Linked DNA regions of Homo sapiens: regions 1 and 3 are each linked to region 2. Evidence: promoter capture Hi-C in human tissues and cell types (Jung and others, 2019). All regions are on one chromosome and are shown on one strand. The core of a region is centred on a gene start or on the middle of the fragment in contact, and the rest is flanking DNA. Distances in the headings are between cores, read along the strand shown.

Region 1 (3,467 bases), core at 225-2,724, 660 kb before region 2:
TTTCTGTTTGTGGGGCATAAACTTGTAGCACTACCACAGCAAAAGCATTTGTGTGTGCAGTTGTGTTCTTCATACATTTCATCTTATCACATTATGTTTTAGTGTCTCAGATACATCTGGTCCTGATGTCTGATGGCTCCAGTTAAAAGCATGCAAAACTGCCACCAAAGCAGTGAAATGCAGATAACAGTGACAAACGGATTAAGAGGCATTATCACTTCAAAGTGTGTTTAATTAAGATGAATCTCTGTACAAGAAAACCTGAAAATGCCTGGAAACCTTACAGCTCATATAGAGAAAAAAACATATTAGAAAAGGTCCCAGCCAGGTGCAGTGGCTCACACCTGTAATCCCAGCACTTAGGGAGGCCGAGGAGGGCGGATCACAAGGTCAGGAGATTGAGACCATCCGGGCTAACACGGTGAAACCCCGTCTCTACTAAAAATACAAAAAATTAGCTGGGCGTGGTGGCAGGCACCTGTAGTCCCAGCTACTTGGGAGGCTGAGGCAGGAGAATGGCGTAAACCCAGAAGGTGGAGCTTGCAGTGAGCTGAGATAGTGCCACTGCACTCCAGCCTGGGTGACAGAGTGAGACTCTGTCTCAAAAAAGAAAAGAAAAGGTCCCAAATTTGAGTCTTAAAAATGTACATGATATTACTAATAATGGATTGTGAAGCTGAAAGTTTTCTAAACTTTTAATTAAATTTATTATTTTGATGCTAGACTATCAATTGAACTACGTCCTGGAGGCTGTCACTTGTTTTTGTAAATACAGTTTTGTTGGAACACAGCCATGCTCATTCATTTACAAATTGTCTATGGCCACTTTCCTGCTACAATGGCGGATATGGGTACTTAATACATAGGCTTGGTCCCCAAAGCCTGAAATATTTGCTTTGGTCCTTTACAGAAGAAGCTTCTGGCCCCCTGTGCCAGATAAAAGATTAAATTACCCTTTTATGTGTTGTATAGGAAATATGACCAAAAAAACCTGCCATATAAAGGATGACTAAAGAATTTGTAGCCAAAAATGTAGGAAAACACGTATTATATAATTATGTCAGGCAGTTAGCTATAAAAAGATGTTATGTTATATTTCTGTACTTTATGATGTTTGTGATGGTTTTCAGCTCTTTAAAATTTGTAAGGTTTATTATTTTCTCATTCTAAATATTTGCTTTTATACCTAATTTTTTATTTTCCAAATTTTTAATTCTTAAAGGAGTCTTATGACTGTATAATCTCCAGACCTCACAAAACTTGGATCCACACCTAGCCATTAAGAACTAATATACTACATTTGCATTTTAGAGAATAATTCCTATACTGCATGCAAGAAATTGGTGTATCTCAATTTAACTTGCTTGCAAAGACTTCAGAGTCTTATTGCACAAACAACAGTATCTAAGAGAATAAAAGTCAGCGAAGCCTTAAAGGAGCTGATCAAGTGACAGTATGATGACAATAAAATCACAACAGGGTGTGGCTGCTCACACCAAAGCAAGGGGGTCCGTGGGACTGTCAAAACTGCCCTAGTTTCTATTATAAAAAGCCCCCTCCCTTTGCCAATTACAAAATGAGCAGCCTGCCCTGCCCTCTCTCATTCCCGTTGCAATGGGCATGGCAATGCCAAGGGGGCATCCTCGCTTCACATTTGTGCAGGGCAAGAACCAAATTCCTTGATTCTTGGAGCTCCAGAACTCCAAACAGTGAGGGGCCTATAAGGTACCCCCAGCATGGTCCCTTCCCGTGGACCTCAAAGGAAGAGCGTGATCCTCTCTGACAGGATGCCACTGACTGCAAGCCACAGAATGTCTGGTCATCAGTGGTATCTGTGATAATGACTCTGAGGGACGCCCCTTTGCCAAGGCTCAGGAATGCTCCCACGGGCTGCCGGGCCTATTCAGCATGTCTGGGGTTTGGGGTTTCTCCCTCATAAATCACGGAGGGCTGCTCCCACCCCCAGCACTTCACACCGCACAGGGCCCCAGCAGGAGGGAAAGTGTGCTTTTTCCTCACCACCTGGAAAAGCTCTCACTGTAACACTCCCCTTCCTGCTCACTGCATCACATGCCCACCCTGAGCCAGTCACAGGAAAGCCCAACACCAAGCCAATCCCGATTCCCCGGGCGTCCTGGGCACACATCATTAAAGAAAAAGGCAATGGTGTGGAAACAGGTAACCCTCAGTGTCATGTTTCGTAGGCTCCAGGTACAAACCATTCCCATGGAAAGACTAAGCCTCTACAAAGGATTTGGCCCAGTCAGCGTAACCCTGGGGAATCTTGAAAATATCTCAAGCTGGTCCATAGGACACGGAGGTCACTGCCCCAGCTCTGGGTGGGTTTCTGAGTGTGGACCTGGATGGCTCCCAAGGCTCTTTGGGGATGCTCAGATAGTATCTCCAGCAGCACCTGCAAGTCAGCAGAAGATGAGGGAGCTTCCGGAAGCATATAGACCTAGATGCTAAGATCAAACCCCAGACCACAGAGAACCTACCACAGCAGAGAGTGGCACTGTTTAGATCTTCTGACTTCCACTGTCACCTGCCTTAGAGACAGGTGAATGCCAGGAGAGGTTAGCTGCTGATGCCTGAGAAATCTATCAAAGGAAAAGGTGGGCTTGTCCCAGGAAGCCTAGGGCATGATTCTCTAAACAGCAGGCAGAATTACAGAATCTTGGTGCCAAAGGAACCTTCAGAATTAACTAATCCAGGGTTTGTCAAGTTTTTTTGATGACGAACAAATAGATTGCACTATGCTATGGTTCGAATGTCTCCTCCAAAACTCATGTTGAAATTTCATTGCCATTGTAACAGTATTAAGAAGTGGGACCATTGAGGGGTGATTAGGTCATGAGGACTTTGCTCTTATAAATGGATTAAATGCCACAGAAAGGAGGAGTTCAGTCCTTGCTCTCATTCTGGCTCTTTCTTTGCCCTTCCTCTAGGGGGTGATGCAGCAAGAAGGCCCTCACCAGATGTCAGTCCTTTGATCTTGGACTTCCCAGCCTCCAGAATCATGAGCCAATAAATTTTTGTTCATTACAAATTACCCCACCAGGCTGGGTGCAGTGGCTCATGCCTGTAATCCCAGCACTTCTGGAGGCTGAGGCAGGCAGATTACCTGAGGTCAGGAGTTTGAGACCAGCCTGACCAACATGGTGAAACCCTGTCTCTACTAAAAATACAAAATTAGCTGGGCCTGGTGGCAGATGCCTGTTGTCCCAGCTACTCAGGAGGCTGAGGCAGGAGAAGTGCTTGAACCTCCAGGAGGCGGAGGTTGCAGTTAACTGAGATTGCACCATTGCATTCCAACCTGGGCAACAGAGCGAGACTCTGTCTCAATGAATAAATAAATAAGTAACCCCACCTGTGATATTATTATGTTATAGCAGCACAAAACACATCAAGATGCACTGTAAAAGAGTACATACACCGGGCATGGTGGCTCACGCCTATAATCCCAG
Region 2 (3,360 bases), core at 611-3,110:
CAGCCTGAACACTAAAGGCCTAAGTAACCACTGTTTTCCCATTCTTTTCACACCAATACAGGGTTCAAGAGATTGAAGTTCCTAACCAGGTCCCAACTTTTGAGTGGCATATGGTATTAAATTCCTTACAGATCCAATAAAATCACACTAACAATTTAAGGCATGCTTATTTTAACCAATTAGGAGGTGTCATTAATTATTAAATACAAAAATGTCAATACTTTTGTCCCTTATTGGATATCCTTTCGATATGATAGGCTTGAGTAGATACTCAGATTGCCTTGGGAACTTGCTTAGTTTTGTTCCCATAAGAATTGGTACTAATGGCACACTCACAATAAAATAATGGAGTGTTGATCCCATTTAGTGGGGAATGTTTATCCAGAACTGAGTGTGCCGTGCAGATCTACCTCTGTTCTCGTGAACCCTCTTTGGGTCTTGAAGAGGCCTTTGAAGCTGGTGGGACACACGGCTGCTGGGAGGACCCTAGTGAACCTGCCTCCCCGCCTTCGCCCAGGGCAGGCTTCTCCGGGCACACCCTGGAGGAGGAGGAGGAGGATGGTGAAGGACACCTGCAGATTTTCCTGAAGCAATTAAGACCTGTAAAGATTTAGGCCCCGCTGTCAACCTTTTCCTGGACACATTATCTGCCTCATCATATTTTTAAAAATTGTTCCTCTTACAGCCCACTTCCATTTACAAAGGTATCACCTGGCGGTAACCATGTGCATGTCATACATGACTTTCCCCTGGATCCTTGTGCTGTGGATGAAGCGTTTCCCTGATCGGGGTCTCACAAGTTTCCCTTCAGCTACTCTTAAATCTATACATTCTCAAGCCAATAGACAGAAATAAAAGTCATTTGCACTTGTGTGAGGTAGCTGAGTTTACAGAGCAGAGGCAAATCCATTTTATTACAGAGATTCTCAAAGGGCTGCAATAGCTTCACCGGGAGGGAGGAGGGTACACTTGAGCGGTTGTGTCCAATGAAGGAAAGTTTTAGTTAATGATGACATCACTGACATCTCCCAAATTTAAAGGAGCACTTAAAGCACCGCAGATGCAATTTTTTCCCCTCCAGTGAGGAGATACTAGGGAAGGCCTCTGGGTTCACAGCCAAATTGCCTTAATGGTTTGCCTGCTGTCCAGCGAGACCCAGCAGAGCGAGCGGGACGGCGGTGCGCCGGGCCGCGGGGACCCACGCAGTCACAGCTCCGGTGCCCGGCGAGCGGCCTCGCGCGCGGCTCGGGGCCGGGCCCTGCCCGGCCGTCTGCAAGAGCCGCGGGACCCCCGACGCGCGCGCACGGACCGAGGGGTCGGTCGCCCCACGCCTGGCATCACGTTCCAGTGCGGACAGCCAAAGGGCTGAGCGGAGGCAGCAGCCCCGACCCAGCGGTAGCGCCGCGCCCTGCCCGAGAGAGGCGCGCCACGCCGGGCCGGAGCCGGTGGCCCGGGAGCCCGCGGGGTCCGGAGCGGAGCCCGCAATGCAGACGCGCCGGCGAGCCCAGCCGGGGCCCGCGCCCCCCGCGTCCCCGCGCCCCGGCCCCGCGGTCGCCCGGCCTCAACGCCCACCTGCCTCGCCACGGAGCTCGGGAAGGAGACGGCGCCGGCCCCGCGCCCGGAGAGCGCACCTGCCTGGTCCGCGGGCCCGGCCCCGCCGCCCGCCGGCAGCACCGCGGCCAGCGCCGTCTTACCTGCCGCGCCGCGCCGCTCCGCTCCGCCAGCCCGCAGCGCCGCAGTCGCCGCTACCCGACTTCCATTTTCTCTCGCTTTAAAGGAAAACCAGATCAGCTGTTTTGCTCCCGCTCGGGCTCCGCGGCCCCCTCCCCAGCTGCCGCTCGCGGTCCCGGTGGCCTCTCCTCCCCCGCCTCCTCCCGCGCTCCGCTCCGCCCCTCGCGCCCCTCCGCTCCGCCCGCGGCCGCGCACAACGCCCGCCTCCCGGCTCCGCCTGCTGCCTCCGGGCGCGCGCCCTCCTCTGACGTCACCGGTCGCGTTCGCGCCCCGCCCCCGCCCCGCGCGGACGTGCGCGCGCCGCGCCTGTGCCCCGCCCCCGCCCCTCCGGGGCCGGGCACGGAGAGCGCGTGCTCGCGGCCGCGAGCCGAGGAGGGGACGTACAGCGCCCGCGCGCCCGCGAGCCCGCTCCGGCTCTCCCATGCTTGCCCCTCGGGGTGCTCCTTCTGCGCTCTCCGCCTGGACTGCAGGAAAAGGCTGCTTAAACAGCCTGCCTTTTCCTGCTGCCTGACTCGCGCCATCTGCGGCCACCTGTCTCGTTTCTTCCCCCTGGCTGGCGCACCCTTCCTTCCTAAACATCCCAAACTTTCTCCCACCCAGGCTGTCCAGGCTGCAGTTTCTACGCCCTGCGCTGGGGCCTGTGCATCACGCCTAATCCAAAGCTGGTCCTTTTACCTCCCAAAAAGGTTCTCTGACCTTTTCCCATTTTTTGCCTTCCTCTAAAGACTTTTTCACGCCACCCCTTCAGATGGTTCCCCTCCCTGATGGCAAGACCTGCTCGCTGCTCTGGGCCCTTCTCACGTCACCCTGTAGATGTAGTCACGCTTCCTTATCCCAAACAGGACGTTATATTGCAGATGACCCATACCATCCTGGTGTACTTCTAAACAATCATTATTTTACTTTTAGTTTAGGACTTTTTGCTTGACTTTAAACATTGTATATGTTTAATAGTGTTTAATAATTTATTTGACTTTTAAAATTGATATTCAGTAAAATTGGTTATTTGATATATAATCCTGTGATCTTGAACCCTTGTTTGGATTCATGTAACCACTAGCGCAATAAAGAGCTCCCTAGTTCTGCCCTTTTATAACAGCGCCCCCGCCAACCCTAACTTTTGGTAACCACTGATAGGTTCTCCATTGCTACGGTTTTGTCTTTGTGAGTGTGTCGTATACATGGAATTACGCAATATGTAACATTTTGAAACTGACTTTATTCCCTCATCATTATACCTTGGAGATTCATCCATGTTATTGTGTATAGTAATAGTCCTTTTTATTGTTGAGGGGAGTCTCATTATTTGTACCACATTTTGTTTAGTCACCCACTGGAGAATATTTGCGTGGTTTCCAGTTTTTGGCGACTGTGAATAAACATTCTATAAACATTTGCATGCAGCGTTTTGTACGGACAAATTTTTTAAATTAGTTGACTAAATATCTAGGAGTGCAATTGCTAGATCTTATGGTAAATTTGTTTAACTTTATAAGAACCAAACAGTTTTCTAGAGTGGCTATAGCATTTTTATAACTGTCAGCAAATATGAATCCCTTTCCTTCATCCTCACCAGCACTTGATATTGGCTATCTTTATCTATCTATCTGTCCATCCATCCATCCATCC
Region 3 (3,019 bases), core at 460-2,959, 540 kb before region 2:
CTTATTAAATGTCATCAACACAATCTGCCTGGAAGAAACACGATTACTTTCTACCAAGCACAGACCCTCCTAAAGGGACCAGACCCAGTCCAGCACCTTTAGTCTCCCCAGAGGGTAGCAACTCAATCAGCGAGACCGCATTTCAGGGTTTTAGTTACAGATACTGAGGGTGCTCAAACATCCATGCAGTTTGCTGTTCACCGTAACACGCAACCCAGAATGGCCGTTTCGGTCCCTCGTCGGTTACCTGAAAACCAGTCTTACTGAGCTCCAACCCCAAATTAATTTGGTGAGAACTCGAACTCGGCTATTAACCTTAATTCTGAGAGAAGAATGACACCCCCCTCCCACTGCGAGGGTCCACTGAGGGTGAGTGCCCGGGCTCCTTCATTCTCCAGGCTCCTCTCAGAACACAGCAAGGGTGGCTGACTCCTTCGAACGTCCATTAAGCACAATGCAACGGGGCGAGGCAGTAGGGGGTTTGCTGAGCCCGGTTCCGCGGCGGTGGGAAGTTATTCACCGGCGTCTCCGAGGACGGCCCAGGCCTGGAGAATGGCTGGGGCCGCGGGCTGGGGTAGGGGTTACCGTGAGAGTCAAGGGCAAGGTGGCCCAGCCCGGGCTGGGAGGCGCGGGCTGGGCGCAGCCGAGCATTTCCTCCGGGAGGCCCAGACAGCGGGCGGGTGGGGCGCGGTGGGCGGGGTCCTCGCAGCTGGTGGCGTTTGAAGCCCCCCCGACCGCGGTGGGAGAGGGGCAGCCTAGAAGAGTTGGCAGCGGGCCTGCGGCGGGATGGGGAGGAAGGGGCCCCGCGTTCCCTCAGCAGCGGCGCCGGCCGCCCTGGCACGTAGTTCGCTTCTGGAGGCACAGGCCGCGGTGGGCGCGCCACCCGGGCTGCCAGGCTCACCGCCAGCCGAGGCCAGTCCTGCTCGGGCTGACCCGAGCTGAAGGGCAGCGCGGCCGCACCCCGGACCCCAGGAACGAGCCCGAGTCTGTCCCTCCCGCGGGAGCTGCCCCGCCCGGACTCCCGGAGCTCTGCAAGGCAGGGGCGTGGGGAGGGCGAGCGGCCTGAGGCTCTAGGCGCGGCCACCCGGCAAGCCGGCGGCGGAGGGCGCGGCGCGAGTGCGTTCCGCCCCTAGGCAGCCCCGCGCCCGGCCGGGCAGACACGCCTCCCCGCCGGCGCCCATCGCGGGAGGAACAAATGGCGCCCTCCAGAAACCGCTCCCCTCCATGCCGGGGGCCAAGGCTGTCACCACATAAAAGCTCCGGCAGAGAAGTGCTCGCTGTGTCCCCGCCGCGGGGGGTACAAGCAGCCGCTCCGCGCCGCGACTACCCGGCCCGCCGCCCCCGGACGTCATGCGTCAGCGCGCCCCGCTCCAGTTTCCGCCCCTCCTCCCACCGGCCCAGGGGACACGCCCACTGGCGCGCGCAGGGCCCGGGACCGGGCACGCCCCTCTAACGGCTCGGATTGGCCTGGCCGTGCACTCACGGACCAATGGCGTCTGTCCCGGCCCTCGGTCACGCCCCCTTGCCCAGGCGCGGGCACGCGACCGCTCCGTTCCGCCGGTGCGCGCTCTGGGGTCCCCGCCCCCTCCGCGCGCGCAGCTCCCCGCAGCCGCCGCCGCCTGTAACCTGCGCCGCCAGGATGTGGCTGGGGGCTGACGTCGGGTCCAGATGTGGCCCCGGCCCCGCCCACCCCCGGGGCCGGGCCGCCCACACGGAGCCGCGGCGCGCACGGCAGCTGTCCCGCCTGCCACAATGCGCGGCGAAGCTGCGGCCGCGACTTGGCGAGGTGGTCCCTAACGTTGCCGCTCGGCATCCTTAGAACCGGCCGCCCCTGACGCCGCGCGGGGACCCCAGTCGCCCGCGCGCCCCATGCGCTCACTCTTCGGTGCCCGGCCGGGCCGGCGCCTCGCAGACGCGGAGCCGCGCGGGTGACGGCACAGGCGGCTGCGCGCCCAGCCCAGCCCAGCCCAGCCCGAGGAGAGGGCGCGCCGCGCCCCCGCCCCCCGCCCGCTCTCCCGAGGCCGTGGGTGCGGATGCGCGGCTGACGACTCGCAGCAAGAGCACCGCCGCCGGCCCCAGCCCGCAGCATGGCAGCCGCCGCCTATGTGGACCACTTCGCCGCCGAGTGCCTCGTGTCCATGTCGAGCCGCGCGGTCGTGCACGGGCCGCGGGAGGGGCCGGAGTCCCGGCCCGAGGGCGCGGCCGTGGCCGCCACCCCCACGCTGCCCCGCGTCGAGGAGCGCCGCGACGGTAAGGACAGCGCCTCGCTCTTCGTGGTGGCGCGGATCCTAGCGGACCTCAACCAGCAAGCGCCGGCGCCCGCCCCGGCGGAGCGCAGGGAGGGCGCCGCGGCCCGGAAGGCGAGGACCCCCTGCCGCCTGCCGCCGCCCGCCCCCGAGCCCACCTCCCCCGGCGCCGAAGGCGCGGCGGCCGCGCCCCCCAGCCCGGCGTGGAGCGAGCCGGAGCCCGAGGCGGGGCTGGAGCCCGAGCGGGAGCCGGGGCCCGCGGGGAGCGGCGAGCCCGGCCTCAGACAAAGGGTCCGGCGGGGCCGAAGTCGCGCCGACCTCGAGTCCCCGCAGAGGAAGCACAAGTGCCACTACGCGGGCTGCGAGAAAGTTTACGGGAAATCTTCGCACCTCAAGGCGCACCTGAGAACTCACACAGGTCAGTGGGGCGGCGCGGGCGCCCGGATCGCGCGGACGGGGTCGGCGCGAGCTGCCCGACCACGCCCCCGGAGTCCCCGATGGGGCGCGAGGTGGGGGCCGGGCGGGCCGGAACGCCCGGGGCCTCGCCCCTTCCCCTGCCGCTCCGACCCGCGGCTGGCCCCGCGCGTCGCGCGAGGCGGGTCTTGGCTCTCGGAGCCGGCGCCCGCCAGGCGACCGCGCCCCCGCCGGGCACGCCCCCTCCCCGGGCGCGCTCGGGTGGGGCCGCGGGGGCGGATATAGTCATCTGGGCTGGGGGCGGGGACCCCTCCCGGCCGGGAGGCGGCGCGGGCAGGTGCGGGCGGCCTGGGTGTGGA

The links. Contacts are between HindIII fragments. The study calls those that stand out against the background at their distance.
Region 1: a fragment that was not itself captured here is called in contact with the fragment with the promoter of OTUD7A in region 2 in 1 of the 25 tissues and cell types used here (dorsolateral prefrontal cortex).
Region 3: the fragment with the promoter of KLF13 here is called in contact with the fragment with the promoter of OTUD7A in region 2 in 1 of the 25 tissues and cell types used here (dorsolateral prefrontal cortex).

What each region holds. Positions count from the first base shown.
Region 1 is chr15:31,204,960-31,208,426 of GRCh38, forward strand. No RefSeq gene overlaps it. Among named protein-coding and RNA genes, the nearest start is that of LINC02352, 9.3 kb to the right of the region's middle. The HindIII fragment of the contact is 4,398 bases long and covers 1-3,467 here.
Region 2 is chr15:31,868,813-31,872,172 of GRCh38, forward strand. OTUD7A (OTU deubiquitinase 7A) reads right to left here and starts at 1,861. Exons shown (of 13, transcript NM_001382637.1): 1 at 1,695-1,861. RefSeq lists a silencer at 1,824-1,893. The HindIII fragment of the contact is 13,679 bases long and covers 1-3,360 here.
Region 3 is chr15:31,325,126-31,328,144 of GRCh38, forward strand. It overlaps KLF13 (KLF transcription factor 13), which reads left to right and starts at 1,710. Exons shown (of 2, transcript NM_015995.4): 1 at 1,710-2,664. The coding sequence starts at 2,088. RefSeq lists a promoter at 835-1,891 and an enhancer at 919-1,432. The HindIII fragment of the contact is 14,180 bases long and covers 1-3,019 here.